Regions from separate parts of the Homo sapiens genome. Here region 2 is linked to region 1. The links are contacts of gene promoters, found by promoter capture Hi-C in human tissues and cell types (Jung and others, 2019). All regions are on one chromosome and are shown on one strand. The core of a region is centred on a gene start or on the middle of the fragment in contact, and the rest is flanking DNA. Distances in the headings are between cores, read along the strand shown.

Region 1 (3,506 bases), core at 553-3,052:
CTTAGCCCATGTGGCAACCCACAGGACAAAAGCTTCAAAGGTCATCTTGATGATCGCAGGCTCTCCTAAGTACTCCATAGCAATGCCCCCAAAAAACTTCCTTAGCCTCCCCACTGGATGGACAAAAAGCCTGAGGTTGAGGGGGTCACATGAATCACCTGGGGATCTTGTTAAAATGAAGGTTCTGATTCAGCAGGTCTGCAGCAGTGCCTGAGACTATATTCCTAACAAGCTCCAAAGATGCTGGTTTAGAGACCACACTTTGTTGTTGTTATTTTTCTTTTTAGACTGAGTCTCACTCTGTTGCCCAGGCCAGAGTGCAGTGGTGCAACCTCAGCTTGCTGCAACCTCAGCCTCCCGAGTAGCTGGGACTACAAGCACGCGCCACCACGCCCGGCTAATTTTTGTGTTTTTAGTAGAAACGAGGTTTTGCCATGTTGGCCAGGCTGGTCTCGAACTCCTGACCTCAGGTGATCCACCCGCCTTGGCCTCCCCAAGTGCCAGGATTACAGGTGTTTGAGTCACGTCGCCTGGCCAGGGACCACATGTTGAATAGAGAGGGGTTAAGCAGAAGGGATGGCCAGAGAGCAGCATATTAACCTTGGTTTCTGGCCTCCTAGCCTGATGTAGTAAGACTGGGATATTCCCCTCCCTACAAATGTCTGTGTCTCTGGAAATGACTCAGGGATTCTGTCCAAGACTGCAAGCCCTGAGAAGCTGTGTTTGACTCATCTCTGTGCCCCTAAGCCTGAGGTAGGGACTCAGCCCATTTGCTGGCTCATGACTAAGAAAACTCATAGAGCAGAAATAAAAGGGCCCACCTGGTTTGGTCTTAGCTCTGCAATGTCTCCAACCACTAGACTCTCCATCAGCTTCACCCGGTCACTACCAAGTATCTTGGTCTGGGGAAGAGATTGAAAGCCTCAGGCCATTGCAACAGCTACAATCCAAAAGGCTACTAAGCAAGGATGCATCCTCCCTGCCATCCACAGTGCAGTCCAGCCCACCCAAAGTGACTAACCAGTCTTTTGGTTCTACACGTGGCAAAGGACCACCTTCTGATTTCCTGACCTCCCCCAGTCACTCTGTGTGGGGGGACTGCCAGGGAACTGGACAGGACCTAGCACCTTCCTGAAATAACCCCTTTTCAAACCAACATCCAGCCCAATACATGAGAGTGGGTGTCAGCCCTGGAAAACCCGGGACATTAAGGCACACCATTTAATGGGGGCAAGCTAGAAGGATGAGATGATGAGACCCTCTGAGCTCATTTCCTTGGGGCCATTGACCTATCCATGACACCCCCATGACCTCTAGCTCTTCTGAGAAGGCTGTCCTTGGAATCCAGTTCACAGCAAACAAAGCCAAGGAGTGGACCACTGTAAACAGGGAGGAAGGCCTGATCAGATGGCCAGTGTGCTCCCCTGGCTCACCTGCAGCATATGAGACACGTCAAAGAGCGAGCAGTGCTGGCGTGTGTGCAGGTGCGAGTCAGTGTGACTGTCCCGGTACTGCACTGGCAGACTCCAACCCGCAAACGCCACCATTTTCCCGCCGTGGGCCAGGTGGAAGTCATAGAGCGGTGTCCTGCGGAGCACCTCCTGTGGGCGGCTGGGCTTAGTGCCACCAGGGCCCTAGCCCCCAGCCGCTTCCCTCCCCCACCCTCCAAGATCAGCACCCTCTATCCCACCTGTGCGCAACTAAGTGGACGACACAAGGCCGGGGGGAATGCCTGCAGGCGAAAGCCCAGACGGGCCACCACACTTACAGCCCTCTGCATCGTCGCCTGCAACGAGTGCAGACGGCGCACAGAGGCCACCACACTGCCAGGCACGCCGGGAGATGTAGTCCAGGCCTCTGCTCGGACAGGTCTCTCTCCGGAGCAAAGGATCTGAAGGGGGCGTGGGCAGCCCCAAGGGCAGGCTGGGATTTAGAGCAGAGAATGCAGGAACCCGCAACCACAGGGAAGAAGCCTCCAGCTCTTTCGGCTGACTCTTCAGGGCAGCTCGGGCAATCCAGAGCTGATTGGGCTGCCCAGAACAAAGCTAGGGGCTAGACCGCCCCCTGCAGAACCGCCCTGTCTCCAGAGGGTCAAAGTTCTGGAAAGGGCTGAAAGGTCTGAATCATACCTTTAGGACCTCAAGAGAGTAAGGTCAAGTGGGGGTGGGGAAGGTGGGCCAGCCTGGCAGGTAGGCAGCACCACAGTAGTCTGTCCTCATGTGGACCCCTAGTTCCACAGCTCTCCCACCAGGCAGACACAGGCAGCCAGCAGTCATGCATTCCACAAGTATTTATTGATCTTACTGCATACCAGGCCCTCAGATGGGGACACAGCCACGAATGAAGCATGGTCCCTGCTACCACAAGGTCCTCTTCACTTACACACACACTGAGGACTACTGCTTCGTCACGCTTTCCGAAGCAGCTGAGTGGGGCTATGTAAGTGACCTTGCAGATGAAGTCGCCACCTGCAAGAACTCACAGGTGAGAACAGAGGGTGGCCACCAAAAGGTCACTGAACTCCCCCGAGAAAACTGTTGAGCCACACACATGTCCAACTTTCCAGGTCCAAGACATACTGCAGTACTGCTTTGTAATAGCCACCAGGTGCAAAGCCAGGAAGAACCAGAGGGAAACAGGTTTTTCTCACATGAGGGAAGAGCAGCCTGCATCACTTAATGGTTGGACTGAGTTAATGCAGGACTTAGGCCTCTTAAAAGGCAACAATGAGAACCCTTACTTGGACCCACTCCCCACCACGGTTGATCTCTCATTATGCTGAGCATATCTCTTGGAAAGGGGCAGGGCGGGCGCGGTGGCTCATGCCTGTAATCCCAGCACTTTGGAAGGCCAAGGCAGGCAGATCACCTGAGGTCAGGTGTTTGAGACCAGCCTGACCAACATGGAGAAACCCCATCTCTACTACAAATACAAAATTAGCCAGGCATGGTGATGCATGACTGTAATCCCAGCTACTCGGGAGACTGAGGCAGGAGAATTGCTTGAACCTGGGAGGCGGAGGTTGCAGTTAGCCAAGATTGCACTATTGCACTCCAGCCTGGGCAACAAGAGCAAAACTCAACCTCAAAAAAAACAACAAAAAAGGAGAGGGGCAACTGGGAGAAAGGATAGAGATGTGCTTTGGGCTATGTCAGATGGCAGAAGGGTCCCAGTTCTTTTTTTTTTGTTTGTTTGTTTAAGATGGAGTTTCGCTCTTCTTGCCCAGGCTGGAGTGCAATGGCATGATCTCAGGTCCGCAACCTCCACTTCCCGGGTTCAAGAGATTCTCCTGCCTCAGCCTCCCAAGTAGCTGGGATTACAGGTGCCTACCACCACGCCCAGCTAATTTTTTGTATTTTTAGTAGAGACGGGGTTTCTCCAGGTTGGTCAGGCTGGTCTTGAACTCCTGACCTCAGGTGATCCGCCTGCCTGGGCCTCCCAAAGTGCTGGGATTACAGGCGTGAGCCACTGCACCCTGCCTAGAAGGGTCCCAGTTCTTATGCTCA
Region 2 (3,506 bases), core at 570-3,069, 340 kb before region 1:
ACGTGCCGGGACCGGGTTCCGGTGTGGAGAGCCCCTCATCCTGGGAAAAGGTGCTGCCAGAAAGGTGGCGCCCCCTCACTCATCACGCAAGTCACGTTGAACCTGATGCTAAACCAATCATAGATGACCCGCTTCTGGGTTGGGGTTTCCTAGGTAGCTAAGCAGATCCCTGGCTGCAATCTATTCAAAGTCAGTCCTTGACACTGGGGTTTGTTTAAAAAAAAAAAAAAGCTTAAAGAAAAAGGAGAAGAAAGAAAAAACTTTTAGTCCACATTAACTTTGAAAATCTTAGTGTTAAATAACCTATAACATCCACATAGATGTGATGAGCCCACTAACTAAAACACTGACAACAAATAAAGTACATTAAACAGGCTGCACCTCAGCATTTCCCATATACCTGAACCTGCTGCGGCTGCTGAACCTGGATCTGCTGTTCTTGCTGGGTTTGTGGCTGAACACTGGTGGTGACTGGACAGGCAAGTTCAAGCAAAGACCCAGCCACTTCAGTGCTGTCTGTGTATATGCAGTTCCCACCCTGTTGGTACACCATGGTAGTGGTGGCTGTCTGCTGGAACTCCTGAAGGGCTTCTGGCCCCTTAGAGGCCAGTGAGTCCAGAAATTCCTTCATCCTGTGTTGCGGGACAGACCGTGCCTTTACTCGGATGTACTCTTCAAAGGAGATGGTGTTCTCTAGGGAATTATTCATATTGCAGAGTCCTTAGGGTTCCTAGAAATAAACAGAAGTCAAAATTATGTTACTGTTTTTAGCAGGAAATGCCCAGAAGCAATTACCCTTGCACAAGAGTGGAATATATTCAGGGCAGCTGTATACATATAGAATCAAAAAATAAAGTTTTATTATACCACCTTATTTTTTCAATTAATGGATGTTTGAAAATTATTTCTATTAACATTTCTTAAATAAAACTATCACACTGAAAACAAAAAAACAAACACATGCTTCACAATACTGGATGAAACAGGCTGAAAACACACTTCCTACCCAGCACTAGGTCAATCCCATCTTCTCTGCAGAGCCAAGCACTGGACAGTAAATGTCACATGCAAAACTGCTCTGTGACCATCACAGAGAGGACACCAAGCAAGGAGGAAGCTAGGGGCAGGGATTCCTATGGATATGTTTTATTTCCAAGTATTTCCTACAGCAGAGATAGGTATGCCACCTAGTTGTGGCAAGACACAAGAGGCAGAGGATATGTTCTTCATCTCCCATCAGAAAAACCAAAAATCCTATTTTGCCATGTGGTGCTCACATTCTTTTGCAACACAGCTTACTACTGGTTAAAAGCATGGACTCTGGAGCCAGGCTGCCTGGGTTCAAATCCCAACTTTATGTCTCCTTTATTATGTAACTCTAGAAAAGTCAATTAACCTTAGTTTTCTTGTGAGTAAATGGGGACACAATAGTACTTACCTCACAGTTGACATAAGGATTAAATAAGGCATTTAGAAAATCATCTAGCACATAGATAGCACTACAGAAATGTAACTAATACTATTAAAATAATTCTGGAAAAAAGGTAAATAGTGCTTTAAATATCCAGGTCACTACTAAAATTCAGAAATAAATTCTACAAGTTTTCATCAGGTATTTAATTACCTTAAGAATTAACCTGCAGACGTACAGTTAACTCTCATCATCTGAGGGAAAAGTGTGCAATCTGTGGACTGCTGACCCCTGTCGCTGCTACCTTTGTACCATCCTCCCTTCAACAGCCCGACCTCCAGAACAAAAGTAGCAGCAGGATGAAAGAGTAACAGAAAACAAGCGAACGTTTTTGCCAAAAAGGATTATCAGACAATTCTGAATGTCTGGAAAGGTGATTTGTTCCCTTGAGCAATCAGGATAGATACACTAGACTGACCAGATGCTCTACCTTATGTTACAGATATAAAATATGTGGGTAAACGTCTCCTTTCTTCTACCTAGGCTCTAAGTTCTTGGTAGACAAGACTATGTCCTGGTTCTCTCCGAATAGCTCACCCATGGTAGTTGCTTCATATATACCTGCTGCATTTGAAATTCAATGTGGAAAACGAAGAATTATGGTTCCTTTTTTTTTTTTTTTTTTTTTTTTTTGAGATGGAGTCTCATTCTGTTGCCCAGGCTGGAGTGCAGTGGCTTGATCTTGGCTCACTGCAAGCTCCACCTCCTGGGTTCACACCATTCTCCTGCCTCAGCCTCCCGAGTAGCTGGGACTACAGGCGCCCACCACCACGCCCAGCTAATTTTTTTGTATTTTTAGTAGAGACGAGGTTTCCCCATCTTAGCCAGGATGGTCTCGATCTCCTGACCTCGTGATCCGCCTGCCTCAGCCTCCCAAAGTGCTGAGATTACAGGCGTGAGCCACCACACCTGTCCTTTTTTTTTTTTTTTTTTTTTGAGTTGGAGTCTCCCTCTGTCGCCCAGGCTGGAGTGCAGTGGCACGATCTCGGCTCACTGCAGCCTCCCAGGTTCAAGTGATTTTCCTGCCTCAGCCTCCCGAGTAGCTGGGACTACAGGTGCCCACCACCATGCCCAGCTAATTTATGTATTTTTAGTAGAGACTGGGTTTTGCCATGTTGGCCTGGCTGGTCTCAAACTCCTGACTTCAGGTGACCCTCCCGCCTCGGCCTCCCAAAGTGCTGGGATTATAGACGTGAGCCACCCAATTGGTTTCTGTAATATCCATAGCTCCACGGACTCAAGCAATCCTTCCACCTCAGCCCAGGCAACATGGAGAAACCCCATCTCTACAAAAAATATATAAAAATTAACTGGGTATGGTGGTATGCACCTGTAGTCCCAGCTACTACGGAGGCTAAGGTAGAAGGATTGCTTGAGCCCAGAGATCGAGGCTGCAGTGACCCGAGATCACTCGAATGCACTCCAGCCTAGGCGACAGAGCGTAACTCTGTCTAAAAAAAACAAACAAACAAACAAACAAAAAAATTAAGTTATCAGCTGGTCACAGTGGTGCACACATGTAGTCTCAGCTACTCAGGAGGCTGAGGTGGAGGATTGCTTGAGACCAGGTCTTTGGGCTGGGAAACCTAGAGAGACTTTCATCTGTTAAAAGAAATAAATAAATAAAATAAAATAAATAATTATAATAAAATATTATAATAATTACAATTATGTAATATAAATATAATTTTTACATAAATATAAAAATATTATAATTATAATAATTAAATATTATAACAATTATAATAAAATACTATAATAAAATAATAATAATTAAGTGGTCAACGATGTCCACATCACACATAAAGAGAGCATCAGGCCAAGCACACTTTGCCTAACTACAGATTCAGAGAAGGCTACTTGGCTTAGGTGATCCGAGAGCACTCATTTGCCACACTTGCACAGAATGTATCAAAGTTCCCCTTTGTTAATAGCACAGTAGCGATTTCCTTAAGAAGGCATCTTTCAGCCCAGTGCGGTGGCTCACGCCTGTAATCCCAGCACTTTGGGAGGCAAAGGCAGGCAGATCACCTGA

What was found. Contacts are between HindIII fragments. The study calls those that stand out against the background at their distance.
Region 2: a contact is called between a fragment that was not itself captured here and the fragment with the promoter of AMT in region 1, in 3 of the 25 tissues and cell types used here (dorsolateral prefrontal cortex, liver and mesenchymal stem cells).

The regions. Positions count from the first base shown.
Region 1 is chr3:49,420,671-49,424,176 of GRCh38, forward strand. It overlaps AMT (aminomethyltransferase), which reads right to left and starts at 1,803. Exons shown (of 9, transcript NM_000481.4): 1 at 1,691-1,803; 2 at 1,434-1,601; 3 at 822-902. The coding sequence starts at 1,780. NICN1 (nicolin 1, tubulin polyglutamylase complex subunit) reads right to left here. Exons shown (of 6, transcript NM_032316.3): 6 at 1,663-3,506. RefSeq lists enhancers at 678-1,430, 1,431-2,184. The HindIII fragment of the contact is 4,289 bases long and covers 1-2,600 here.
Region 2 is chr3:49,076,309-49,079,814 of GRCh38, forward strand. It overlaps QRICH1 (glutamine rich 1), which reads right to left. Exons shown (of 10, transcript NM_198880.3): 2 at 401-730. The coding sequence starts at 709. Among named protein-coding and RNA genes, the nearest start is that of QRICH1, 16 kb to the right of the region's middle. The HindIII fragment of the contact is 7,025 bases long and covers 1-3,506 here.